Linked DNA regions of Homo sapiens: all the other regions are linked to region 7. The links are contacts of gene promoters, found by promoter capture Hi-C in blood cells and fetal thymus (Javierre and others, 2016). All regions are on one chromosome and are shown on one strand. Each heading gives the region's core, a stretch centred on a gene start or on the middle of the fragment in contact. The rest is flanking DNA. Distances are from core to core; before and after follow the strand shown.

What was found. Contacts are between HindIII fragments. The CHiCAGO score rates a contact against its expected background, and 5 or more counts as called.
Region 1: a contact is called between a fragment that was not itself captured here and the fragment with the promoter of HEG1 in region 7, in 7 of 17 cell types (total CD4 T cells, naive CD4 T cells, activated CD4 T cells and 4 more). The highest score is 7.6, in total CD4 T cells.
Region 2: a contact is called between a fragment that was not itself captured here and the fragment with the promoter of HEG1 in region 7, in 4 of 17 cell types (activated CD4 T cells, total CD4 T cells, naive CD4 T cells and 1 more). The highest score is 7.5, in activated CD4 T cells.
Region 3: a fragment that was not itself captured here is called in contact with the fragment with the promoter of HEG1 in region 7 in 2 of 17 cell types (naive CD8 T cells and megakaryocytes); the score reaches 5.1 in naive CD8 T cells.
Region 4: a fragment that was not itself captured here is called in contact with the fragment with the promoter of HEG1 in region 7 in 1 of 17 cell types (erythroblasts); the score reaches 5.1 in erythroblasts.
Region 5: a fragment that was not itself captured here is called in contact with the fragment with the promoter of HEG1 in region 7 in 3 of 17 cell types (naive CD8 T cells, activated CD4 T cells and total CD4 T cells); the score reaches 7.2 in naive CD8 T cells.
Region 6: a contact is called between a fragment that was not itself captured here and the fragment with the promoter of HEG1 in region 7, in 2 of 17 cell types (naive B cells and total CD4 T cells). The highest score is 5.6, in naive B cells.

Annotation. Positions count from the first base shown.
Region 1 is chr3:125,435,480-125,439,362 of GRCh38, reverse strand. No RefSeq gene overlaps it. Among named protein-coding and RNA genes, the nearest start is that of ZNF148, 62 kb to the right of the region's middle. The HindIII fragment of the contact is 4,100 bases long and covers 1-3,737 here.
Region 2 is chr3:125,388,882-125,392,624 of GRCh38, reverse strand. It overlaps the pseudogene RNU6-232P. Among named protein-coding and RNA genes, the nearest start is that of ZNF148, 15 kb to the right of the region's middle. The HindIII fragment of the contact is 2,230 bases long and covers 347-2,576 here.
Region 3 is chr3:125,412,838-125,416,716 of GRCh38, reverse strand. LOC105374081 (a long non-coding RNA gene) reads left to right here. Exons shown (of 3, transcript XR_924428.4): 2 at 1,454-1,529; 3 at 1,795-1,878. Among named protein-coding and RNA genes, the nearest start is that of ZNF148, 39 kb to the right of the region's middle. The HindIII fragment of the contact is 2,337 bases long and covers 1,397-3,733 here.
Region 4 is chr3:125,555,766-125,559,898 of GRCh38, reverse strand. The region is part of intron 8 of OSBPL11 (oxysterol binding protein like 11); the gene reads left to right. Among named protein-coding and RNA genes, the nearest start is that of SNX4, 38 kb to the right of the region's middle. The HindIII fragment of the contact is 1,721 bases long and covers 1,461-3,181 here.
Region 5 is chr3:125,365,493-125,369,555 of GRCh38, reverse strand. All of the region lies in intron 1 of ZNF148 (zinc finger protein 148), which reads left to right. Among named protein-coding and RNA genes, the nearest start is that of ZNF148, 7.8 kb to the left of the region's middle. RefSeq lists enhancers at 151-651, 652-1,152. The HindIII fragment of the contact is 4,992 bases long and covers 1-4,063 here.
Region 6 is chr3:125,456,495-125,460,028 of GRCh38, reverse strand. It overlaps SNX4 (sorting nexin 4), which reads left to right. Exons shown (of 14, transcript NM_003794.4): 11 at 2,664-2,763. Among named protein-coding and RNA genes, the nearest start is that of SNX4, 62 kb to the left of the region's middle. The HindIII fragment of the contact is 5,987 bases long and covers 1-3,534 here.
Region 7 is chr3:125,053,897-125,057,613 of GRCh38, reverse strand. HEG1 (heart development protein with EGF like domains 1) reads left to right here and starts at 1,617. Exons shown (of 17, transcript NM_020733.2): 1 at 1,617-2,039. The coding sequence starts at 1,724. RefSeq lists an enhancer at 1,054-1,103 and silencers at 1,354-1,733, 1,814-1,903, 1,964-2,123. The HindIII fragment of the contact is 2,339 bases long and covers 1,004-3,342 here.

The DNA.
Region 1 (3,883 bases), core at 438-2,937, 380 kb before region 7:
TTGTTGTTGTTGGAGGTACTCAGGATTTTATTTTTATTTCTCACGTCTCTTCCATCTGGCTGTTTATTGGCATCCTTTAAATTTTCCTTTGTAATAAATCAGGAATAATAAGTAAGCATTCCCTGGGTTTGTGAGTCATTCTAACAAATTATTGTAATTGCCTGATAAGTGCACAGACAAAATCAATTCACTGAGACTGAGGTATTGCAGTAAACGGAGTTATTACTCAAATCAGTCTCCTGACTTTTTGTTGTTGTTGTTACTGTTGACTTGATCTATAAATTACTGGGAGAGGTGTATTAAAGTCTCCTAAAGTTGAACTTGTCCATTTCTCCTTGCAGGGTTGTCAGTTTTTGCATTATAAATTTTGAAGCTATCTTATCAGCTGCATATAGGCTTTTGTTATATCTTATCTAATTCTGCCTTTTATCAATGTGTCCTCTATTTGTAATGAGAGCCCGATTCTCACCACCCCCCTCAACTTATTTCATGTGCATTTCCCTTTGAAAAATTTAAAGGGCTGCATGGATAAACCACAATTTAACTTTTTGTCTATTATTGGACATTGTTTCTAATTTTTCATTTTTATAAACCACACTGAAGTGAGCATCTTTGTATGCAATTGTTTCTGATGATTTCCTCCTCTGGGTAGATTTCTTGTAGTGGAATTACAAGGTTAGGCTGTATGAACATTTTAAAGACTTTTCATATATGTTGTTCCTTCATGGCTGTTGATGAAATTAGAATTTTTGGTGCCTGTGTCACCCAATTGGCTCCTGTTGAGCTATCTGTTCCCAAAATCCCTCAGTGTTTTTGACTTGGTCTTTTTTTTTTTTTTTGTCCCTCACCCAATATGTGTGCACTTGGCAGACTTTATGTGTCATTTGGAACTTGCATTACTCCTCTTACAATTTAATCCGTTAGATTGGGCCCGTCCCTCCAAACCGTAAGTCTCTCCCAGCCTCTGACCAGCAGAGTGTCGGCCATGATGCAGGGGCCGTGTCTTCTGTAGCTTTGCTCCAGTCAGTTATGGAAATAGTGAGAACAGAACTCCATGGCAAACCACTGGAAACAAGCCCATGGGGATATCAAGTTCTTTTTCAATGAGGCTAATAGTTAATAGTTTATTAAACATTTACTATGCACTAGGCACTACATATATGTTAACTCATTTGATTGTTACGACAAACTCCAAAAGTAGATATTATGGTCTCTATTTTAAGATATGGGAATTGAAATTCAGGGAGAGAGGAAGTCTGTCCAACTGGTCACCCTGCTACTGGGTGAGCAGATCAGGATTCCAACCTCTCAGACTTGGGTTCTGGTCCGAAACCCAAATGGCCAGCCCTGTTCTACAGGAATCTACCACCAGGTGGCGGTAGAGCCAATGGGCCCAGGAACAACCTCTCTGAGATCTGAAATTAGCCACAAAACTGCCTTTTTTTCCTATAAAAAGTAGCGCTGACTTTTATTGACAGTAACTAAAACTAGATTATTCAATAAAATAAATATTAACCTAACAGGCACATTCCTCTGGGTAAAACGATAATAAAGTAAGCAGACCTTTGAACTTGGACCTTTCAAGCCTAGATTTCATCAATATAATTCCTCAGGGGAAAATCTCTTTTTCTAAGTCACCCACACTTGGGCAATTCTCCCTGATTTTCTGCCCATTCTTTGCTGCCTCTGCCCTCTGCACTAGCACACTCCTAGCAGTAATCAAAGCTATAGGAAGACCTTCAACTGGGAAAGCGTATCAGAATTTGAGGCAAGAAATTTAGAGAGTGGGATGTTGGTGGGCAGTGAATGGTCCCCAGGAGATTCGAATATACCCTTCTAGGGGGCATAGGTGGGCATTCCTGGTTCTGGAGAGAATCTCAGATTCACCATCTATCCAGGCACCCTTCAATCTTCCAGCCTGGGAGGAAGGACGTGCCTCTTTCTTTTCTTCAATCTCCCCATCACATTTTGAGATTTTTCTGCTCCACTTTAGAAAAAAAAAAGAAGGTTTTATTTTTTAAACTCTTCCCCTTTCCTTTTTTTTAGCGTTCCTGTCTGTACAAACACTGGTGCTTTGCTTGTCCATTTTCCACTCTTGCTGGGCAGCATCTTTTTCAAACCATTTGAACATACATTCAAATTGTTTCACCATGTTGTGGGTATTGTATTTCAATGGAATTGGAATATGAAAAGGCCTTTTTTTTTCTTTGTCTGAGACAGCATCTCGCTCTATCACCGAGGCTAGGGTGTGGTGGCAGGATCATAGCTCACTGCAGCCTCCACCTCCTGGGCTCAAGCCATCCTTCCGCCTCAGCTTCCTGAGTAGCTGGGACTACAGGCACGTGCCACCACACCTGGCTAGTTTTGTTCATTTTTTGTAGAGATGGGGTTTCACTGTATTGCCCAGGCTGGTCTCGAATTCAAGCAGTCCTCTTCCCCCGGCCTCCCAAAGCTCTGGGATAACAGATGTGGGCCACCGTGCCCAGCAATTGAAAAGGACTTTTAAAACATCCTACCATGTTTTGGTTCTGCCTGGATGGACCAGTGTTTCCCCCTAGCCCTCCCCCAGCAGTGTCCCAGGCATGAGTTGACTGCCTCCCAGTGCCCTGTCCTCACACTGAAGGGAGGGTCCCTCTGCTCCATGCACAAAGGTGAGCTCCTGACTGGCACCAGAGTTAGGGACCTCCAGGTGGGGCTGGTCCTAGAACAGTAGCCAAGACTGAGGCTCTAGGCTGCAAATCAGGGGATTCTGAAGTCACATTCAGGCCTGGTTGGACTCCTGGCTCCACCTCTTACAAGTTCCATGACTTGTCAGTTACTTACCTTTACTGAGCCTCAGATTCTTCAGGGCAAAGTGTGGATAGCACCTGCTTTGCAGAACTATTATATTAGATACAATTGGCCAGGTGTGGTGGCTTATACTTGTAATCCCAGCACTTCGGGAGGCTGAGCCAGGCGGATAACTTGAGGTCAGGAGTTCGAGACCAGCCTGGCCAACACAGTGAAACCCCATCTCTACTAAAAATACAAAAAATTAGCTGGGCGTGGTGGCGCATGCCTGTAGTCCCAGCTACTCTGGAGGCTGAGGCAGGAGAATCACTTGAATCCGGGAGGTGGAGGTTGCAGTGTGCCAAAATTGCGTCACTGCACTCTAGCCTGGGTGACAGAGCAAGACCCTACCTCAAAAAAAAAAAAAAAAAGAAAAAAGAAATGTTATATTAGATACAATAATGACAATAAATGCATGTCAAGTGTGCCTGGTAGGTATGTGCTAGGTAAATAACGTTGGCTATTGTTCAATGGAGTAAGGGATCTGGGACATCTCACAGAATCATGGAATGTTATTGCTGGTGGTCCCATAAGATCATAGGCTAGTTCTCTTAAATAACCAAATAGCTTGCTTTACCCACTTGAATGAAAACAACAAATTATTTTTTAAGGTCTAAAGAAGTGACTCCATGTTCCCAACACACTAATTATTTAAAATGTCCTTTTTACAAGGAGTGGTCTCTGTTAAAAAAAAAAAAAAAAAGTCCTCACTGGAACTCCTCCCATAGTCAATCTAGGGAACCCTGGGTGCTTCCTAGTCATGGTTACTTCACCTCCCTGAGAAGAAACAAAGAGGCCTAAAAGGCCACTCTTTGTCGTGGCTGCGGCCAACAAGCAGTTGGCCAATAGTGCACCATGTCCACTTGGGAACTGTCTTGAGGGCGGGGACCTTGTCTCCGCAGGAAGCTTCCAGGCTACTGAGACCTGCCTCTCATGCCACAGTGGTTTCTCGGGGCTCAAAATGGGGACAAGGACTCCTCTGCACGGTTGTAGTTAGCCTAGACCTAGCCTGGGCTCCATGGCCACAGAGTTTTGGAGACTGAGCTCTTTGAAC
Region 2 (3,743 bases), core at 212-2,711, 340 kb before region 7:
CTGGATAATTGTTTGTATGGGGGGTATTCTGTGCATTGCAGGATGTTTGGCAGCATCCCTGGCCTCCACCCACTAGATGCCAGTAATGCCCCTTCAGATGTAACAACCAAAAATATCTCCAGACTTTGCCAAATATACGATGCGGCAAAGCAGTCTCCACACCCAATTAAAAACACTGAGATTTTAGGGTGCAGGACTTCCCAAGAGAAGACTCGCATGGAACCACTGAGAATACGGAAGATCCAGATAATAAATATGGTATATTTGGGTAGCTGGGTTGATGACTTAATTGTAGCGCTTGGGTCCTTGGTAAATCCCTAGAAGTTAATTAACTCTGTGTAAAGCTTATGTGAATAAATATTTATGCACATGGACATAGAAACACAAAGATGAAACTATAATGTTTCATGAAAAATACCCATGCCAAAATGCATGTTTTTTCCTCTTTTGCAGTCACCCTGGGAGGCTTTATGCTTCTGCCAGAGGTACCTCATTCCCCAGGATGGTGCCAGGCCTGCCTTTGGGACCAACCTCTGCTTTGAATTCTCTACCTGTGGCAAGTCTTCATCCTTTTGGAAACAACTAGAAGTTACCAAGGAGATGAGCAAGGTGGACAATCAAATTAGGTGATCATGTTACGGTTTTTCCCCCAAAGAAGACATGACCGTGAAGAAGTAAGATTGATCTTTCTGTGAAGTTTATTCAATGATTATTGTACATTGGTGATTTCCTTAAACAAATCATACAATAATAATACTAACTACCAGTCCCTGAGCACTTACAATGTGCCCTGTAGTCTGCAATATTCATCTCATGGAATCATAAGAATTATCTGACCTATCACCATACACAAAAATTAACTCAAAATCATGAACTTCCTAAATGTAAGAGCTAAAATCATAAAACTTTTAGAAGAAAAATCAGTGTAGATCTTTTTGACCTTGGATTAGGCAATAATTTCTTAGATACGACACTTAGAGCATAAGCAATTAAAAACATATAAATTGGGACCAGGAACAGTGGCTCACGCCTGTAATCCCAACACTTTGGGAGGCCAAGGCGGGCGCATCACCTGAGGTCAGGAGTTCAAGACCAGCCTGGACAACATGGCAAAACCTCGTCTCTACTAAAAATACAAAAAAATAGCCAGGTGTGGTGGTGGGCGCCTGTAATCCCAGCTACTTGGGAGGGTGAGGCAGGGAGAATTGCTTGAATCTGGGAGGTGGAAGTTGCAGTGAGCCAGATAGTGCCACTGCACTCCAGCCTGGGTGACAGAGCAAGACTCTATCTCAAAAATAAAATAAAATAAATAAAAAAGAAACTACATAAGTTGCTGAAGGTCATATAGTAAATAAGAGGGGTAACATTTGAAATCAACCTCTAGGCCACTGGGTCTCAACCAGCAACAAGCAGCATCAGCAACGCCTGGAAATTTGACAGAAATTCACATTATCAGATCCTATCCAAGACTTACTGAATCAGATATTCTGGGGTTCTCGAATTGGGGTGGGGCCTAGAATTTGTGTTTCAATATGCCTTGCAGATAACTGAAGCAGCCAAAGTTTGAGAAGCACTGCGCTGTGCTAGGTGATACTGCCACTCAGAGCCTAAACTAAGGCAGGTGTGTTAAAGATGAAAGCAGAAGACAGATCGGAGAATTATTTAGAAAGTTAAGAGCTCTGGGGCCAGGTGCGGTGACTCACGCCTGTAATCCCAGAACTTTGGGAGGCCAAGGCGGGTGAATCACCTGAGGTCAGGAGTTCGAGACTAGCCTGGCCAACATGGTGAAACCCCATCTCTACTAAAAATACAAAAATTAGCCAGGCGTAGTGGCAGATACCTGTAATCCCAGCTACTCTGTAGGTTGAGGCAAGAGAATTGCTTGAACCCAGGAGACAGAGGTTGCAGTGAGCTGAGGTCACGCCATTACACTTCAGCCTGGGCAACAAGAGTGAAACTGTCTCAAAAAAAAAAAAAAAAGAAAAAAAGAAGAAGAAAAAAAAAAGAGATCTGGGCGTGCCATAATCTCAGCACTTTGGGAAGCCAAGGCAGGTGGATCACTTGAGGTCAGGAGTTTAAGACCAGCCTGACCAACATGGTGAAACCCCATCTCTACTAAAACTACAAAAATTAGCCCGGCTTGGTGGTGGGTACCTGTAATCCCAGCTACTCAGGAGGCTGAGACAGAAGAATTGCTTGAACCCGGGAGATGGAGGTTGCAGTGAGCCAAGATTGTGTTACTGTACTCCTGCCTGGCCAACAGAGCAAAACTTCAACTCAAAAAAAGAAAGTTAAGGGTTCTGTTTAAAAGGCAGCTGGGATTACAGGCATGTGCCACCATGCCTGGCTAATTTTTGTATTTTTAGTAGAGATGGGATTTCACCATGTTGGCCAGGCTAACTCCTGACCTCAAGTGATCCGCCTACCTTGGCCTCCCAAAGTGCTGGGATTACAGACGTGAGCCACTGCGCTTAGCCAAGTATGCAGTTTCTCTTGGCCTGTTTCCTCTTCTGTATAATGCTGATACAAGCCTTACCTTTGAGAGTTGTATTACCTGAGATTATACAGGTAAAGCTTTTAGCATGTTAAGCCTGGACAAATAGGGGCTTAATAAAGGGTAGTTTTTTAGGCCCACATCATCTCTCTCCTGGGCTCACTACTGGTCTTCTCCATCCCTGATCATCCCATCCAAGTGATTCGTTTCTATCTCTGACCCCAACTATCTAACTTTCAGCTCTCTTACTTCATTTTGCTCACTGTGCCTGGTTTTCAGTTGTATTGAGGTTTTGGCCCTTTTATTATCTCCCGTTAGCCCCATCTGCTCCCGCACTCTGAATGGGATTTCTCTCCTCTCTGGCTAGACCACAGGTCTGTCCCTTTTGCCAGTGCCATTGATTTCCTTGACCCATATTCTTTGCAGTGCTGACCTTAGGAAACCTTGAGCTTATTGCGGGTATTTGTTGGCCTTCCCATATTCTACCTGACCTGCTGGATGCTGCTGGAGAAAGTGACGTAACAAGCTGCTCCTTATGGGTCTAATCTCAGAGTCCTCGAGCTGCTCTTAATCTCTTTATTTTCCCTTTTGAATGCAGCCATTTCAAACCTTCTCCAAACTCTTCCGACTTCCTACCACAACACCTTCCCGCTTCCTCTCAGCAGGTGATCTCGTGGTTTACAGAGGAAATAAAAGTGTCTATTGACTTCCTGCCACTGCTTCCATGGATTGACCTCTATCTACTCTTGTCCTCTCTTCTGCCCCTTTGCCTAATACTTCTATTGTGCTTGGGGCCCCTTTTTCAGTCCTGTGACCGCCCATACAGCTTTTTTTTTTTTTTTTGAGACAAGGTCTCACCCAGTCACCTAGGCTGCAGTGCAGTGGCATGATCATAGCTTACTGCAGCCTTGACCTCTTGGGATCAAGCCATCCTCCCACCTCATCCTCTCAAGCAGCTGGAACTACAGGCTCACATCACCATGCCCCACTAATTTTTTATTGTTTTGTGGAAATGGGGTCCCACTATGTTGACAGGCTGGTCCCGAACTCCTGAGCTCAAGTGATCCTCCCTCCTCAGCCTTCCAAAGTGCTGGGATTACAAGTATGAGCCACCACATCCAGCCGGGCCTAGTAGGGGGTGTGCAAATCTTTTCTGTATCATTCCAATTTTAGTATATGTGCTGCTGAAGTGCGCACTCTACTGCCTTTTAAAAATATTATTATTATTATTATACTTTAAATTCTAGGG
Region 3 (3,879 bases), core at 1,316-3,815, 360 kb before region 7:
GAGCAAGAACCTGTCTCAAAAAAAAAAAAAAAAAAAAAGGAAAATCTGGCTCACAAGGCAGGGCTTGCTTTGTGACTCTCTCCAGAGGTCCCTCTCTCTCTTCTGTACCTCCAAAATCCACAGGCTGACACCACCTTGACTCCCTCTACTAAGGCAGTCGAAAGTTGGGACAATGAGGCCAGTAGAAGGAAGTGGATTCCCCACTGCAACTTGCTGAGGGCCTCATTTAATGATCCAGGTCCTTAGGTGAAGGATCTCCTCTTACCAGGGTATTAGTCCGGGAATGACGTCACTTCAGGGAAGTCCCACAGGTTGGGCTGCCCCTGTTCCCACCCCCAAGGATTTCTGGATGGGGGTTCTGTGGTATAATATAGAGTATCCTTGGTCTTTGCCTAGATTCCTGTCACAGAACACCTAAAACCCTTGGAGTTTCCTAACAGGAGTGTCTTTTGTTATTCTTTATTTCTTTTCTTTTTCCTTTGTTCTTCTTTTTTTTTTTTTTTTTTTTTTTTTTTGAGACAGAGTCTTGCTCTGTTGCCCAGGCTGGAGTGCAGTGGCACAAACGAACATGGCTCACTGCGGCCTCGACCTCCTGGGCTAGAGCAATCCCTCTGCCTTGGTCTCTCAAGTAGCTGGAACTACAGGCACACACCACCATGCCTGGTTAATTTTTGTATTTTTGAAGAGATGGGGTTTCTCTATGTTGTCCAGGCTGGTCTCGACCTCCTGAGCTCAAGGGACCCTCCCACCTTGGCCTCCAAAAGCGCTGGGATTATAGGCATGAGCCACTGAGTCTGGTCCCTTTGTTATTCTTAATGAGCCCCCTTTCATCACACCCACGGACAGCACTCTACAAGTCTTGCTCATGAAGGATGTGACCTCCAATTTCGGGAGAATACATCTTTCCCCAAATGATCTTGTGCCTTCCATCCAACCTTAAACACCTATGGACAGCCTGGCCCAGCCCTAAATCTAGCCAGAGGAGTTGCACACCAGCCCTCTGCCATTTAGAGCTGCCTTAACCCACCCTGGACTTTTGAAAGCCAAAAGTCCTAGCCAGAGAAAGGGCCAACTGAATAGGGACTGAGTTTCCAGGATAAATGATTCAATGTGCAGAAGTTCCTAGAGATGCTTGCTCTCTCAGGGAACTTGTGGCAAATGGGGGGTTTCAAACCTCTCATTTAGAGCCCTGTGATTGTAGTGAGGTCAGCCCTGCCAAGTGCCTGCCACCCAGACATGCTCTCCCTGGGACTTTAGGTAGGTCATGACCAATCATGAGCCCTAGAGCTTAAAAGATCCTTTAGCTCTTGCCTAATGTGGTCACCCCTGTCTGTACAGGAAGTCCTACTCACAAATGTTCGCAAGGCAATTTCAAAAACACCTGTCAACCAAAGCTTACGTAGACCCTCTTCTCTATATGTTAGAAGAATATATGATGTTCTTTCTATTCCAGGACGTATAACATTGGAAAGAAGCAATTTACTCATCTAGACTTGGAGAGTCTGGCTCAACATCAAATTAAAATCATGGTATGTCTGTGAAGGGTGGGGATTAGGTGGGGAGGTCCAGGGTAGCTTGCCGAGAGATACTCAAATAGGGTAAATACAGCCCATCCACCCGGAGCACCAATTTTTTAGAAGTTTTAAGGGGGAAAACACATTTTTATCTATAAACACATTATGAAACAGACTGTAAAATTCACATGAATTTTAAATATAAATTGCAAATTTTCAAAGAAATTTTTAGCTTACAGCTGGCCTTTTTGGGCTACAACCTCTTCTCACCCACCCCCAGCTGGTGTTCACGTGAGGGTGCTTTTGTGCAAAGCTGGAGAAGCACGGGATGTGAAGGGCCTTGCTGGAGGCAGAGCTCTGCAGATGAACCAGAAGACCGCACCCGAACCCCCGTTCAGCTGCGAGGCATAAACGCCTTCCCCTGGTTAGGAGCTGATGCCTCACTGTGAGCTTGGATGGCAAGTTCATAGAGGCCATCCACACGAATGGGTTTAATGGGATTTCTTTATCAATTGTTTAAAGAGAGTCTTTAGCGTCCCTCAATACCCTTTCCAGGAGGATACACAGAATAAATTCCTGCTTGACTTTTAGATCCCAGATAAAACTACTCCCGCAGAAGAATTAGAATTTCTTTGTCATATTGGACAATAAAAATTATGTAACTTACTGTGTTTCTTTGTGCTTCATTGCCAGACATCTTAGAAGCAAATCTCTTAGTCTTTTAATATGTTTGGTCCTGGTGCTGGAAAATGCCTGCTTCTTCTGTCACCTTCAGATGGACTCTGCTTTCCCACTCCTGTATGTCATGTCCTGTTCTGGGCTGTAAATAGCCAGCCCAGGAAGCAAGCAGGGCACACATTTTAACATATATATTTTTTCAATCAACTTTTAAATGACCATGACCAATTTACAACCAAAATTCACAAACAAGGCAAAAAACTATTAACACAGACTCTAAGACAAGTCAAGCATTAAAGAGAAACAGCTGATTTATTTATGTATTAATTTATTAATTCATTTATTTATTTGAGATGGAATTTCACTCTTGTTGCCCAGGCTGCGATCCAATGGCACGATCTTGGCTCACTGCAACTTCTGTCTCCTGGGTTCGAGCGATTCTCCTGCCTCAGCCTCTGGAGTAGCTGGGATTTCAGGTGCCCACCACCACGCCCAGCTAATTTTTTTTTTTTTTTGTATTTTTAGTAGAGACAGGGTGTCACCATGTTGGCCAGGCTGGTCTCGAACTCCTAACCTCAGATGATCCACCCACCTCGACCTCCCAAAGTGCTGGGATTACAGGTGTGAGCCACTGCGCCCGGCCAGTATTTTTTAAGAAAGGAAAATCTATGCAAATTTACATTGTTTTACTATTTTTAAAAAATGCCGGCTGGAGGAGGTTCACACCCTAATCCAAGCACTTTGGGAGGCTGAGTTGGGAGGATCACTTGAGCCCAGGAGTTCGAGACCAGCCTGGGCAACATAGTGAGACCACCATCTTTACAAAAAATAAAAAATTGAGGTGAACGTGGTGGCTCGAGCCACCTGCAGTCCCAGCTGCTTGGGAGGCTGAGGCAGGAGGATTGCTTGAGCTGAGGATGTTGAGGCTGCAATGAGCTGTGATTGTGTCACTGAACTCCAGCCTGGGTGACAGAGTGGAAAAAAACTTTTTTAATGCTGCAGTGAGTACCTATGTGCATAATTTTCTGATTGGCTCTTTAAGATATATTTCTGGAAGTGAAATTATTGCCCATGTGGTGTGACTATTTCCAAGGACAAATTAATTTTCCATGTCTGTTATGATGCTGTGAGTTGCAAGAAAGGCAGCGTAGCACAGTAGCTAGAATCTGTGGACTCTGGACTGCCTGGATGCAAATTCTGGTTCCACTACTGAGTAGATTTAAAAGCAGACTGTCTACCCTCGAATTCACCTCAGGAGCTAATGGTAAATATAAGAATCTACTCAGCAAAACGTAGAATAGAAAAGAAAGAGCAAGGGAATATAAAAACTAGAAAGCATAAAAGAAAATGAAAGAAGCAAACCCAAATAAAACCATTATGAATATAAATGTAGATGAGTTAAACTTGCCTAGTAAAAGACAATGATTCTCAAACTGGGTCAAAAGTCAAATGAGACTGAATGCTTTCTCACCTTCAGTTAACTCACTCTTTATGGCTAGGTGCAGTTGGGCACATCTGTAATCCCAGCACTTTGGGAAGCTTGGGGCGGACCACTTGAGCCCATGAGTTCGAGACCAGCCCTCCCTGGCACCGTAGCAAGAACCTGTCTCTACAAAAATCAAAAGAAAATAGTAAAACAAATAGCCAGGTGTGGTGGTGCATGGCTGTAGACCCAGCTCTCAGGAGG
Region 4 (4,133 bases), core at 1,072-3,571, 500 kb before region 7:
AAATGGCTTTCTTGGCCAGGCACAGTGGCTCATGCCTATAATCAAGCTGGCCTTGAACTCCTGATCTCAAATGATCCACTCTCCTCGGGAGGCCGAGGTGAAACCCGTCTCAGGAGGCTGAGACAGGTGGATCAATTGAGGTCAGAAGTTCAAGACCAACGTGGTGAAACCCCAACTCAGGAGGCTGAGGTGGGCAGATCACTTTAGGTCAGGAGTTCAAGACCAGCCTGGCCAACGTGGCAAAACCCTGTCTCAGGAGATGGCTGAGGTGGGCGGATCACTTGAGGTCAGGAGTTTGGGACCAGCCTGGCCAATGTGGTGAAACCCCGTCTCTACTAAAAATACAAAAATTAGCCGGGCATGGTGGCCTGTAGTCCAGCTACTTGGGAAGCTGAGGTGGGAGGATCGCTTGATCCTGGGTGGTGGAGGTTGCAGTGAGCTGAGATTGTGCCACTGCGCTCCAGTCTGGGCAACAGAACGAGACTCCATCACTAAAAAAAAAGGCTTTCTGGCTTTCTTGTGCAGCAGGAAGTTGTCTGGCAAGTAATACCAATTGTCTTTGAGTTTCAGAACAAAATTAAAGAGTCCATTGGTATACTATACTGGAAAATGTAGAGAAAATTACGTAATCCTACAGAACTATGAAAAGCATTGACACTTCCACTTACTTCCCACATGCAGATCATACATTTGGGGTATTATCTATAACAGGAGTCTGCAGACTTTTTCTGTAAAGGGCCAGATAGTAAATATTTGCAGCTATGTGGACATAGGTCTCTGTTGTAGCTATTCAACTCTGCCTTTGTAGTATAAAAACAGCCATAGACAATATACTGGATTGGGCATGGCTGTATTCCAACAAAACTTCATTTACTAAAACAGGAGGCCAGATTTAACCCAAAGACTACAGTTTGCAGATTCCTGGCCAAAAGCTTTGCTTCTTTAAGTGTGATCTGAAGACCAGTAGCATCACCATCACCTGGAAACTTGTTAGGAATGCAGAATCTCAGGCCCCAGTCCCAGACTTAGTGGACCAGAATCTGCATTTTAATAAGATCCCTGACGATTCATATATACATTAAAGTTTGAGAAGCACTAATCTGTAGTTTTTAATTTTAGGCCAGTTTTCTCTGTTCCCAGTTTAACTAGTGTGCCTTAATTTGTCTTAACAATTAATCCATGACATTAATTTAAAAAGCCAATCAAGTTCAAAACCTATATATGTCAAATATTTATTACTGTAGGATTATTTACTTTGAATTACTGATGAAACAATTTTACATTAGTATGGAATTTCAAAATTGACTTTAGGAGGTAGATGTCAATTGGAGATTTTTTTGATGCCATTGAAGGTAGATTTAAAACATTGTTTCCAACGAACTGTTCATCTGAAAATATAACTTAAATAGAAAGCATAAGAAGCAGACATTTTAGGAATTAATAAAGAAACCCATAAAGCTTTCATTATTTATATAGCTTCAGTATTTCAACTGGGAATCATTTCTGTTCTAGAAATATTTTCATATTAATGGTTCAGAAAAGACCTCATAGTTGTGAAATTGGTTAAAAATGAATAGTCTTCTGAAGGGGTTGTTTGGTATTAGTTAGCATGGTGTTTGCAGTCCCTGAGTAGATTTGCATTTATAAGGCACAAGAGCAGCATTGAGGTTTATGAGGCATAAGAGCATTTGAAAAAAGTGTGCTGTGATAGTAATCCACATGGTAGAAGTTCTCTCATGGCATGAATAAGTGCATATACTATACTTTCTCTACATTTGTACCTTGTTGATTAAAAAGTTGTATGTGGCTGGGTGTGGTGGCTCATGCCTGTAATCGCAGCACTTTAGGAGGCCAAGGCAGGTGGATTACATGAGCTCAAGAGTTCGAGACCAGCCTAGCCAACATGGCGAAACCCTGTCTGTACCAAAAAATACAAAAATTAGCTGGGCATGGTGGTGCACGACTGCAGTCCCAGCTACCATGTGGCTGAGATACAAGAATTGCTTGAACCTGGGAAGTGGAGGTTGCAGTGAGCCAAGATTGTGCCACTGCCAGCCTGGTCAACGGAGCGAGACCCTGTCTCAAAAAAAAAAAAAAAAAAAAAAAAGAAAGTTGTATGTGTTACACATATATTACATTAACATTAACCAACCACAAATTAAGAACATCTATACAACATTTAATGGAATGATACTTTTCAGGCAATATTAAAGAGCCTGGTGGCTGGGTGCCATGGCTCACACCTATAATTCCAACACTTTGGGAAGCTGAGGCGGGTGGATCACTTGAAGTCAGGAGTTGGAGACCAGCCTGGCCAACATGGTGAAACCCCGTCTCTACTAAAAACAAATTAGCCGAGCATGGTGGTGCACGCCTGTAATCTCAGCTGCTCAGGAGGTTGAGGCAGGAGAACCGCTTGAACCCAGGAGGCAGAGGTTACAGTAAGCTGAGGTTGCGCCACTGCACTCTAGCCTGGGCGACAGAGCTAGATTCTGTCTCAAAAAAAATAAACAAATAAATAAAAATAAAGAGCCTGGTGACTAAACTGCAGTCACAGCTACCTCTTATCTAACAATAACACTTAATTAACAAATATTTACTGGGCCCCTGTTATATTCCAGACACTGTGCTAGGTCTTGGGACAGGAACAAATAAGATAACCATGGTCCTAGCCTTCATGTTGTGAATAAGTAATATGCATTTTCCTACTGTTCATTTTGTTTCTTTTTAAATAATATTATGAAATTATATAAACACAAAATTTTAGAAAACTAAAGAAAATCTATCATTTTACTACCCTAACATAACAGAGCTCTCACTTTTATCTTTCTTCACATTGTCATAGTTTATATGGAATTTTGTTTTACTTCCTTTTTTCAGTTAATTTTTGTGTGTATGAAATGTGTTAAACACACAGAAGACTGAATGGTATACATATAAACATTCAAAGAAAAAAGATAAAATGAATACCCATGTATCTACCTCTGACATTAAGTTGTAGAACACTGCCTGAACTTGGAATCTCTGAGTTCCCCTCTAATTTATAGTCCTCTACTTTTTCCTCCATAAAACAATTTACTTGACTTGTGTGTTAATTATCCCTCTACTTTTTGCTATAGTTTTACTGCTTTTTTGTACTCCATAATGATGTTTAGGAAAAAATGAATAGCTAACATAAGCTTAGCATAAGGAAAGGACTGTGTTGCCATTTGTAGAAAGCAGCTCCCAGAAAAAGACAAGTTAAACATTTGAGTCTCTGGCTTTAGCTTCTTATAAGTTATTGAGAAAGTTTAGAAGAGCCCTTTCTTGTGAAATTATAAGGCAAAGTTGTGAGTCCTGTAAAATATACATCCCAGAGCATTTGGTGTGAGTCAGCTACAGGAGGAATGTGGGCTGGGGGAGTGAGCTGCTCAGTATTTTCAGTTTCAAAGCAAACTGTGACCTACCTCCAACTCTGAGGAATAGATTGAAGTCAGAAGGCTTCTTTCGGGGAAATGAGCATCTTCAGCCAATCCAGACAGCAGAACATGGAGAGGAGACTAAGAACTTCACCAGCAGATAGTCAACACAAGCCAAATACAGATACACTTGGGATCAGTTTCACTAGGCTATTTTATCCTGAGGTTTGAAAAGATGATACAATGGCAGCATGAAGCATGTGGATGACAGTCTTCAGTATGTCTGTCTCTTGAGTCACATCACTCTAATCTGGACCAGTATTTCCTTTAGCATTCTCTTTGGCTAATCCGTTTACTGTATCCGTTTCTTCTTTCTTGGTTGCCTCTCATTTTGTTGGAATATATCCTCCATTAATTTCTCAGAAAGATTTGTAAGAAGCGAATGTGAAAATGTGTGTCTGAAATGTCTGTGTTGCCCTCGTGTTTCATTGCTGGTTTAGATAGAATTTGTTACTTGTGGCCAGGTGCAGTGGCTCACGCCTGTAATCCCAGCACTTTGGGAGGCCAAAGCAGGCAGATCACTTGAGGCCAGGAGTTTGAGACCAGCCTGGCCAACATGGCAAAATCCCCTCTACTAAAAGTACAAAAATTAGCCAGGCATGGTGGCACATGCCTGTAATCCCAGCCATTCAGGAGGCTGAGGCACAGGAATCACTTGAACCTGGGAGGTGGAGG
Region 5 (4,063 bases), core at 776-3,275, 310 kb before region 7:
TTTTCTGAATTAACTTCTGAGTACAATTCTATAGAATTTACCTATTTATTGAGTATCTAGTGTGTGCTGTTGGGGGAAGGGGTCTATAAAGGTGAGCGAAACATGGTCCCTGTTTGCTAGGAGTTCATAATCCCTTCAAGAGGCACACTTTTTTTTTTTTTTTTTTTTTTTGAGGTTGCAGTATTCTTTGTCTTCTGGAGAGTTTTAGTGTGGGAAATCTGGAAATGTATTAAAATGACCCTAGAATGTTCTTTCTAGGCTTCTATGGCTTTTTTTTTTTTTTTTTTTTTTTTTGAGGCAGGATCTCACTCTGTCACTCAGGCTGGAGTCCGGTGGTGTGATCTTGGCTCACTGCAACCTCCGCCTCCTGAGTTCAACTGATTCTCGTGCCTCAGCCTACCAAGTAGCTGGGACTAGAGGCACACACCAGCACACCCAGCTAATTTTTGTATTTTAAGTAGAGACACGGTTTCACCATGTTGGCCAGGCTGGTCTCGAACTCCTGGCCTCAGGTGATCTGCCTGCCTTAGCCTCTCAAAGTGCTGGGATTACAGGTGTGAGCCACTGCGCCGAGCCCAAGAGGCACACTTTTGTTTGTTTGTTTGTTTTTTGAGATGGAGCCTCTCTCTGTCACCCAGGCTGGAGTGCAGTGGCGCCATCTTGGCTCACTGCAACCTCTGCCTCCCAGGTTCAAGCGATTCTCCTGCCTCAGTCTCAGAGTGGCTGGGACTACAGGCGTGCACCACCACTTCTGGCAATTTTTTGTATTTTTTAGTAGAGATGGGGTTTCGCCGTGTTGGCCAGGCTGGTGTCGAACTCCTGGCCTCAAGTGATCCACTCACCTTGGCCTCCCAAAGTGCTGTGATTTCAGGCATGAGTCATCACACCCGGCCAAGAGGCACACTTTTAAATAATACATGGTATAATCTTATTCTGAATGGTCTTATTGATGACAGATCTTTTTACTTTGAAATTTTGATTTTTAGAAATGCTGAAGGTTAGTCAATATCAAATAGAGTGAATGAAAAATAGTTTTGCCTTAAATCCAGTTAATCACAGAAACGGGAATAATTTTCTTGGTTGACTTATTAGCTGATTTTGAAAACACTCCCAAGGAGGAAGTTGGAAATATTTTGAACAGGGGTGATAGCTTCACATGTAGTTAGTTAGGCACTACATAAATGTTGGTTGAGTGCATCAGATGGTTGGATGGATGGAGTGAATAAATGAGTAAGTGGTAGCCTTCCAAAGTAACTTATTTTAAAGAGGACCATACTGATTTGAATGTGTAAATAAATTTTTTAAAAACTCATTTTTCTCAGATGAAATAAATTCTGAGTATGTTTGTTAATAATTTTATTACCTTGAGCAAGATAGTTTAAGTTCACAAATGAGTTTTACAGACAGTAAGTGCTGTAGGAGTTCAGGGAATGGAGAAATGAACATTGGCTAAGGTTTGGTGAAATGATTTAAGTGAACCATACTTATATTTGAAAAGATTCCTTAGGGATCTCAGAGAGGAACTAAATGACTCCAAATTCCTCTTGCAGCCCTAAAGTGAACCTAGAGTCTGGATCTATTTTTGTCTGAATGCTTTCTGCCTGTTTCATTTTAGCTACTCCTACTGGTTTGTTCCTTTCAGATTCACATTTGTTGGTAGATGTTGAGCCCCCTGAAACAACTATGGGGTCTGTTTTCCGTCTTCGTATAGTGTAACTTTTAGTTGTTCTTTTATGAGCCTGTACCCCACAAATTACTTGGCCTTCATGAGAGAAGAGCATGAGTCAACTTGGCCCTGTTATCCTGGCATTTTCCTGCATGCTTTTCTCAAAGCTGCTTTCTGAATTACGGAATAGAATAGACAGAACTGAGGGCATGTGTCCAGTAGACACGAGCTTGTTGAATGAATGAATGAATGAATGAATGAGATATTTGAGATAATTTAGGAGATCTGAATTGTCTATATGTTTTATGTTTCTTTTTCATTTATTCATAACCTGCCTTTTTCTACAAAGGACTTAACAGGGCTGCCAAACTATATGCACTAGCAATGAATTGAAATAATTCAATAAATCTGGTTAAAGAGATGATGAAGAAAAGAAAAATCTGTTTAAAGAATATAGATCAATGTGTATCGGTGTTAGAGAACTAGGAATAAGGTAGAAGATAAGCAGATGGGGAAGGAAAGGTGGTATCTGATAGAAAGCATGATTCTGAAGGAGGGAAAAGATTACTGAAATATGACAGGCTATCTTTGGAGGAAAGCATGAGAAGATGGAGGGTAAAGAGGATTATTTGAGACGGCTGTTTTGAGGAGGAAGATGGTAAGGCTATTTGAAGGATAAGAGTCAACAGAAGTTTGGAATATAGTAGAAGTTATTAAATTATGTTGATTTATAACAAGGTTTCAGAAAATGATGGGATGAGCTTTATTTAACAGATAATGCACATTTGTTATATGCAAAAGCATATAATGCTTTGCTGTCAGGAATAAAACCTTTGGGATTTATATTGTGGTAGGGCAGCTGGACTTGTGCACAAATACCTGTACTATAATCACAAATATATCTGTGAGTCACAAATATACCAAATATTACTGAATTTAAAAGGCAGAAAATGCATTTGATTAGGAGAAAACCTGAGACAGAACTTTAAAGGCATAAAAGTGGAATTTTAGCTAGTCTTTGAAGGGATTGATAAGATTTTTTTTTTTAAGTTTTGGATTGATAGGATTTTGATTGGCAAAGATTACTGAAAGAGAGCATTCCTGCCTGAGAGATTAGCGTAAGCAAAGGCTTGGAGGTGAGAAGCCCAGGAGATGTGGGGAATGGTGAGTTAGGTTTTAATTTTTAAACTATGACCTATAGTAAGAAATACATGTCACACTTCTATCTAATATATGCATGTATGAATGTTTGTGTGTGGGTAAAACAAGAAGTTTCATAATACAGTAACTGTCCTTAACAGTGGCAGGTGCAGTTGGATGTTATCTATTTTGTTTGACTAAAAAGAAAAAAAGCTGGCCAAGGGGGAAGAAAAAAAAGCTGATTGTCACTCATTAAACTGATTTCATGACCGACAAAATAATTAATCACAATCTATAGTTTGGAACGCAGAGAGTTCATGAATAAGGTATAATACAAGGTAGGAGAGTCAGTTGGGGTTGGGTTGAAAATGGATGGCCTTGAAAGCTAAGCTAAGTAGTTTGTATTTGATATGATGTAGTGTTGTGCTTGGTAAGCAAACAGAAGCTGGGTTTTAGTCTTGGCTCTTCTGTTTACCCACTGTATGATTATGGAGAATTATTTCCTTTCTGAGTTTCCATTTTCTCATAAAATTGATAATCATACTTTCCTGGCAAGGGTTATGGTGAGGATGTGAGAATTAAAGTATGTTAACATATGATTAAAGTATGTTAGCAGAAATCATTAGTGTATAGCTGTTGAACTTTTCTGAGTAGAGAATTGAGCCAAGGACCGTATATTAGATAGCTGGCAATAGCTATACCTTACTGGGTAGATTGCGGGTAATGTGGTGGTAGAGTAAGATTGTATGTGAAAAGACCAGTTAGAAAACAAAAAGACCAGTTAGGTGGCTACTGGAGATATTAAGAAGGGCTTGAATTAGTTTGATAGCAGTAGGATTAGAATATGGAAGTGGAATGCAGTTGGAGGTAGGGAAGAGGGGAAGATGACTAGAAATATGCTATTTATTTATTTATTATTGAATGAACGAACGTGAGGCTCTTGATCTGTTGCCCAGGCTGGAATGCAGTTGTGTGAACGCAGCAGCTCACTGCAGCCTCTACCTCGTGGATTCAAGTGATCCTCTTGCCTCAGCCTTCCGAGTACCTGGGACCACAGGCATGTACCACCACGCCTGGCTAATTTTCAATTTTTTTTGTAGAGATGTGGTCTCACCATGTTGCCTGGGCTGATCTCAAACTCTTGGGCTCCAGTGATCCCCTCCCTCAGCTTCCCAAAGTGTTGGGATTACAGGTGTGAGCCACCATGCCTGGCTGACTGGAAATTTAGAGTTGTAGAAATATTCAAATGGCAGCAGC
Region 6 (3,534 bases), core at 311-2,810, 400 kb before region 7:
AGAGACAGGGTTTCACCGTTGTTGGCCAGGCTGGTCTCAAACTCCTGACCTCGGGTAATCCACCCGCCTCGGCCTCTCAAAGTGCTGGGATTACAGGCATGAGCCAACACTGTCCTGTCGCTTTTAAAAGCAGTATAAGAATTCTGTTAGGAAAACAAGAGCACTATTCCCTTACCTCTGTGGTGATTGGTGTGAAATCATCTGCACATTGTTAGCTCGTTTTCCTTCTAGGGCTTTGAGTAGTAGGAAGTCTCACCAATGTATTTTCAAGTCACCAAGCAAAAGAAAGTTGGCTAGGTGAGGTGGCTCCTGCCTGAATCCCAGCACTTTGGGAGCCCAAGGCGGATGGATCACCTGAGGCCAGGAGTTCGAGACCAGCCTAGCCAACATGGTGAAACCCCGTCTCTACTAAAATTACAAAAAAGTTAGCCAGGCATAGTGGTGGGTGCCTGTAATCCCAGCTGCTGGAGAGGCTGAGGCAGAATAACTGCTTGAACAGGGGAGGTGGAGGTTGCAGTGAGCCGAGATCGCACCATTACACTCCAGCCTGGGTGACAGAGTGAGATTCTGTCTCAAAAAAGAAAGTTGCTGAGTACAGTGGAATTCTCTGCAGCTCTTAAAAATTATAAAAGGGATTAATGTATGTTGACATGGAAAGATGGCCAGGGTGTATAGCCATTTGAGAAAAGATGTAGGAACCATTTGGGGTGCATGGATATGGTATTTGTCAATGCCTAGCTAAATTCTGAAAGATTATATACTATCTGGTAACACCGATTATATCTGGATAGTGGGATTGGAGGAAAGAGAGTGTTCTTGAACTTTCTTGTTGTATTTTGTTTTTTTTATTTTTTTGAGTTGGAGTTTCACTCTGTTGCCCAGACTGGAGTACAGTGGCACAATCTCTGCTCACTGCCACCTCTGCCTCCTGGGTACAAGTGATTCTCCTGCCTCAGCCTCCCAAGCAGCTGGGATTACAGGCATGCACCACCATGCCCGGCTAATTTTTGTATTTTTAGTAGAGATGGGGTTTTACCATGTTGGTCAGGCTGGTCTTGAACTCCTGACCTCAGGTGATCTGCCCACCTCGACCTCCCAAAGTGCTGGGATTACTGGCATGAGCCACCATGCCCAGCCTCTTTTTTTTACTTTGTGCATTGCTGTATTAGAATCTTTTCTTTTCTTTTTTTTTTTTTTTTTTTTTTTTTTTTTTTGAGACGGAGTCTCGCTCTTTCACCCAGGCTGGAGTGCAGTGGCGTGATCTCGGCTCACTGCAGGCTCCGCCCCCCGGGATTCACGCCATTCTCCTGCTTCAGCCTCCCGCGTAGCTGGGAGTACAGGCGCCTGCCACCTCTCCCGGCTTTTTTTGTATTTTTAGTAGAGACGGGGTTTCACCGTGTTAGCCAGGATGGTCTCAATCTCCTGACCTCGTGATCCACCCGCCTCGGCCTCCCAAAGTGCTGGGATTACAGGCATGAGCCACCGCGCCCATCCGAATCTTTTCTTTTTACAGTGAACATGGATTACTTTTATGATCATAAAAACTAATAAACATTTCTAGGCCAGGCGACATGGCTCATGCATATAATCCTAGCACTTTGGGAAACTGAGGTGGATGGATTGCTTGAGCCCATGAGTTTGAGACCAGCCTGGGCAACATGGGCGAGACCCCATCTCTACAAAGCACAAATTAGTTGGATATGGTGGCACATGCCTTAGTCCCAGCTACTTAGGAGGCTGAGGTGGGAGGATTGCCTGAGCCCAGGAGGCAGAGGTTGCATTTAGCCGAGATTGCACCATTGCCCTCCAGCCTGGGTGACAGAGTGAGACCTTGTCTCCAAAAAAAAAAAAAAAAAAATACCTAATAGACATTTCTAAATCACAAAGAAGAAAACTTTGAGGTATTATCTTTTCTAAGAATACTCAGTTGCTATGTGAGATTACAGCATTAGTTCTTACATTATGTAAGAACTAATTATGTATGTAGTTCATTATGTATGTAATTATGTATACATATGTATACATTATGTATGTAGTTCTCACATACATTAAAAAATGTTTTATGTATGTGATAATGGCATGTTTATTGAAAGAAATGTTCCAAGTATATGGAAAACAACTTTTTTTGTGTTAAGAATATATGACGTTTTTGGCCGGGTACAGGTGGCTCATGCCTGTAATCCCAGTACTTTGGGAGGCCGAAGTGGGTGGGTCACCTCAGGTCAGCAGTTTGAGACCAGCCTGGCCAATATGGAGAATTCCCATCTCTACTAAAAATACAAAATTAGCTGGGTGTGGTGGCGCATGCCTGTAATCCCATCTACTAGGGAAGCTGAGGCAGGAGAATCATTTGAACCCGGGAGGCGGAGGTTGCAGTGAGCCGAGATCGCGCCATTGCACTCCAGCCTGGGCAACAAGAGCAAAACTCTGTCTCAAAAAAAAAAAAAAAAAAAAAAGAATATATGAAGTTTTTATGGTTAGGTTCTGCTAGATTCCATTAGATTCCATTTTTAATGTTGGGCTACTACATTTTAAACTTGAAAATTCTGGGCACACACATTCTGCCCTAGCGAGACATTGTGAATGGTTCTCCTCTACCCTTGAAAAAAATGTTTGACATGTTAAAGGAAAAGTTAAATGGCAGCACATTTTTTCATCTGTAGGGCTGTGTGCAGGAAACATGAACTTATGCAGTATGACTTGGAGATGGCTGCTCAGGACTTAGCATCCAAGAAGCAGCAGTGTGAGGAACTGGTAACTGGGGTGAGTATTTTCCTTTTGGCCTCTGATGATACTGTAGCAACACGGAATGTTCCTCACAAGCACTCACTCTGAGTGAGTAACTCACTCCTGTAGAATCAGTTCCAGTTACAATACTCAGGACGGCTGAACCTTTTACAGGGGAATAATTTGTGAGTAACTTTATAATTCTTTTATTATTATCTTGATACAAAATGATGTAAGCCATTAAAACCATGTACTGTATAGAATTATAAGAAATTTTGCCAACATTTCTCTGGTGTAATCAGTATCATCCGGTTTCGTTTTAAAAAAAAAAAAAATTATTGGGCTGGGCACGGTGGCTCACACCTGTAATCCCAGCACTTTGGGAGGCCAAGGCCAGTGGATCACCTGAGGTCAGGAGTTCGAGATTAGCCTGGCCAACATGGTGAAACCCGATCTCTACTAGAAATACAAAAATTAGCCAGGTGTGGTGCCTCACGCCTGTAGTCCCAGCTACTCGGGAAGGTGAGGCAGAAGAATTGCTTGAACCAGGGAATCGGAGGTTGCAGTGACCCGAGGTCACGCCACTGCACTCCAGCCTGGGTGACAGAGCAAGACTCCATCTCAAAAAAATTGTTTTTATTAATTTTTATTTTTTGAGACAAGGTCTGGTTCTGTTTCCCAGGCTGGAGTGCAGTGGTATGATCAGGGCTCATGGAAGCCTCAAACTCCTGGGATCAAGTGGTCTTCCTGCCTCAGCCTCTTGAGTAGTTGGGACCACAGGCATGTGCCCCCATGCCTGGCTAATTT
Region 7 (3,717 bases), core at 368-2,867:
TGTTAATGTGAGAGCAGCATCCAGAGAAGTTAAGCTCAGGCCATGGGAGCAAACCAAGTCAGTTTCAGGGAGATTACTGTTTGGTACTTTCTTGGAGAGACCTGGAAGTTCTGTGTTAGAGCCCTGGAAAGCTGGTTTGTTTAAAAACAAAACAAAATAAAACCAAATCTTTACTCCTCATTCTCTCATTTAAGGTGAGTTTGTTTATACACAGCCTCCTTTATGTTTTTCTGCCAAATGACTCACTTGTACTGAGTCACCAGAAAGTGGGCCTAGGCCCATCTGCAGCTGCCCTGGACACTACGATCTCATTCTCCTGGAGGTGGGTCATGGAGATCTGGAGACAGAGAAAAAGAGAAGAGCAGAGAAATAGGATGGAGAGCCAGGCCTGACAGTGAGGTGCATACTCATATTTTCACGAGCATTTGGTTGTCAGACAGGGGCCCCCAACAGAACTCGCAAGAACCCCAAGGAGCTGCAACATTTGTTTCTGTTGCAATACTATTTGTTTCCGTTTGCGAATTATTGCAAACTCTGAATTAGGAGACCAGAATTAATAATATCACATGGTCATTCACAGATCAATCATTTCGTCTTCGGGTCTACCTTCAGAATCTTGAGCAAGTTATTTTCCCATTTGAGCCCCTCTTTCTTCACTTAATGAGGTGGCTTACAGTCCTAAACTTTAGACAGTTTATTATTCATTTACTGGGGAGGGAGAGGTTATGGAAACAAATGGAACTTTATTGACCAAGAAAATTTGTTTACATGAAATCTTTGAATCTTTCCCCATAGGTTTCCATTTAAAATTCTGTGTTCTCTGGGCATCATTTGGTTTAATTTGCGATCTGCAGTTCTTTTCCTGATGATGAGTTTGCCCTAGCCTGCCTGAATTCACAGTTTTCTTTTCCCTGCAGCCTGTTTGGGTGTCCTCGCGGTGACATCTCTGCAGAACTCTGGTGTGAGCCAAAGGCAGTGGTCGGATGGGAACGGCATCCAAGCTTGAGAGGGCGTGGGGGATACTCGGATTCTCGCGTTGGCCGGAGGGTGAGGTGTTAGGTTTGGCAAACACGAGCTCATCACCAGCCCTGGGGCCTGAAGAAGGGGAGGTGGGGGTGGGAGTGGGGACACTTCAAATCAATAACGGCGGTGACAGCGCGGGCTGGGTACCAGGGGACCGTTCCCTTTCTCTCTCCTATCAAAGCACTTGGGATAATCTAGTCTGGTGCTAATCACATTACCCAGGACCTGCTTTTCACCTACTTCTTGTGCGTTTAAGGAGTTGGGTAGGTGGTGCCCGATTCAGAAGACTCTGGAGCATGTGTGTGACAAAAGTTGCAGCACCGTGGCTCCGCTGACCTCATCCCGCTGTCCCGGGCCGGGCCGCTCTCCAGGCGCCCGGCCCCAGCCCCCTTCCTGCCCTCTCCCCGCCTCCGGGCCCGCCGCGCGGGGCCGGTGATGTCAACTGAGGAGGAGCCGCCCGCCAGCCAGCGACCCGCCCGGGCTAATTAGCATGTAGCGGCGCCGCGGGCCGCCTCCGCCCAGCCAGCCCGGCCCCCGGCAGCCCTCCCGCGGCTCCCGATAACTTTTGAGGCGGGGAGCGCGCTCGCAGCCTCACTCCGCTCACTTCCCCGGCCCCGCGCGGCCCCCGCCGCCCGCTGCCCGCTGCCCGCTGCCCTCGCCCCGCGCGCCGGGCATGTGAGCGCGGGCGGGCGCCGTCACCATGGCCTCGCCGCGCGCCTCGCGGTGGCCGCCGCCGCTCCTGCTGCTGTTGCTGCCGCTGCTGCTGCTGCCGCCGGCGGCCCCCGGGACGCGGGACCCGCCGCCTTCCCCGGCTCGCCGCGCGCTGAGCCTGGCGCCCCTCGCGGGAGCGGGGCTGGAGCTGCAGCTGGAGCGCCGCCCGGAGCGCGAGCCGCCGCCCACGCCGCCCCGGGAGCGCCGCGGGCCCGCGACCCCCGGCCCCAGCTACAGGGCCCCTGAGCCAGGCGCCGCGACACAGCGGGGACCCTCCGGCCGGGCCCCCAGAGGCGGGAGCGCGGGTGAGTGAGAGCCGGGAACCTGGCGCCTGGCCAGTCTGTGCTGGGGGCGTGGGCGCGCCCCGGGCTGCATCCCCAGCCGTAGGCCCCTCCGCGCGGCGCGACCCAGGGTGGGGGCTCCTCGCCCGGCGTGTGCGGGACCCTGAGGGTCGGCGGGTAGGGAGGGACGCTTTCGCAGTTGGCTGGACTGAGGGGTGTGACTATCCCGTTCTCCTCCAACCCTTTGGAAGAAAACTTATTTCCTATGGGGTACCCTGTATCTCTTCCACCCCACTTTAAAAAAAATGGAAAGGAAAGGGAAAAAGACTGCAAAGCATCTCTCCCACCTCCGATATCTGGCCAGCCGGTCCCCAGTTTCATTTTTTCCGCTATACAGAACTGGCCTCTCCAGGTACAGGGCTCGACTTTCTCATCTAAATAACTGATTTTTAAGGGGTTCTAGGACGGGATATTGTAAAGGACAAAGGATGTACGTAGTTTGAAACAAAACGCTCTACTGGTTCGACTTAAAAGCAAAGGAACGCGGTTGGGGTTGCATGGTTGAACCCCTGCAAGGCACAGGCTGATACAGGACCATCCCTGAGCCTCCTCCCTCCCCTTTCCTTTCCCAATGAACTGTTGCTCCGTGGTAGCCACCGCCTGTCCCACGCAGAGAGAAGGAACTGACCTCTTCTCCCTGCTACCTTTGTGTCCAGTTCTTTCTTATGATCTGGAAAAATATGCCACATACTGAGTGGAATTCTAACCATAATACCATTATGACCTTGGGACTGCTGTCTCTTTGCGCTCACTTTCTCCATCTGTGAAATGAAAGTGATGATCCCTGTTCCTTCTAGCCTCCTAGTGATGATGTGACAAAATGAAAGTAAAAATAAATGGAAAGTGCTTTGAACAAAGTCAGCAACGTGGTGGTGTTAGCCTTTGCCTTCCTGTGAGTGACACAGGGCATATGCTCTGTCCGGGCTATTCAAATAAGCTGGGTTGCTTGCAACACTGGACATTGATTTGGAGTTTCCCTGAAAGTTGAGTTTTTTGTCTGCATAATTGACAATTCATTTAAGTTTCTCATCTCATGCAGACTTTCTGGCACGTGAATTAGCTTGCTTCCTCCAACCTAGAGGTGCTTCTTAGAGTTAAATAAGAAAAAGTTTGGATTTTTAAAAATCAAGTTCTCCTGTAAAAACTCAATTTCATATTCAACAGTATTCCCATTATCGCAAAATGCCTTATTTTGTGAATTTTTAAATCACTGGCATAAGATTGAGAAACCGAGGAACAGTAAGAAAAGGGAGAGGAGAGATAAGCTTCTGAAGACGTGTAGGAGACACATCCCGGAGTGACTGTGACTTTAGATTACTTACAGCATACGCTGTTTTGCTAACTTCCACGGGAAGGAATCAAGAACATAAAACAACATATTTCCCGACTTTCTCCAACTAGGAAAGTAACTGAGGAACACTGTGTAGTATTTTGTGAGTTTTTCTAAACAGAAGGTGAACTGCAGAGAACTGAGAACATTTCAGAGGAGACACCCAAGAGCCGAAGGCAGATTTCTCTGGGTAGTAGTCAGGCTGTCTTAGCTGAATGGCCTCCATCTTGTTAGGGGATAGGTGGGAGGGACACTGACTTGCAGGGGCCCTGGCTGGATGGGGCAGGCACATGAGTCTCTTTCCTTCTCTTA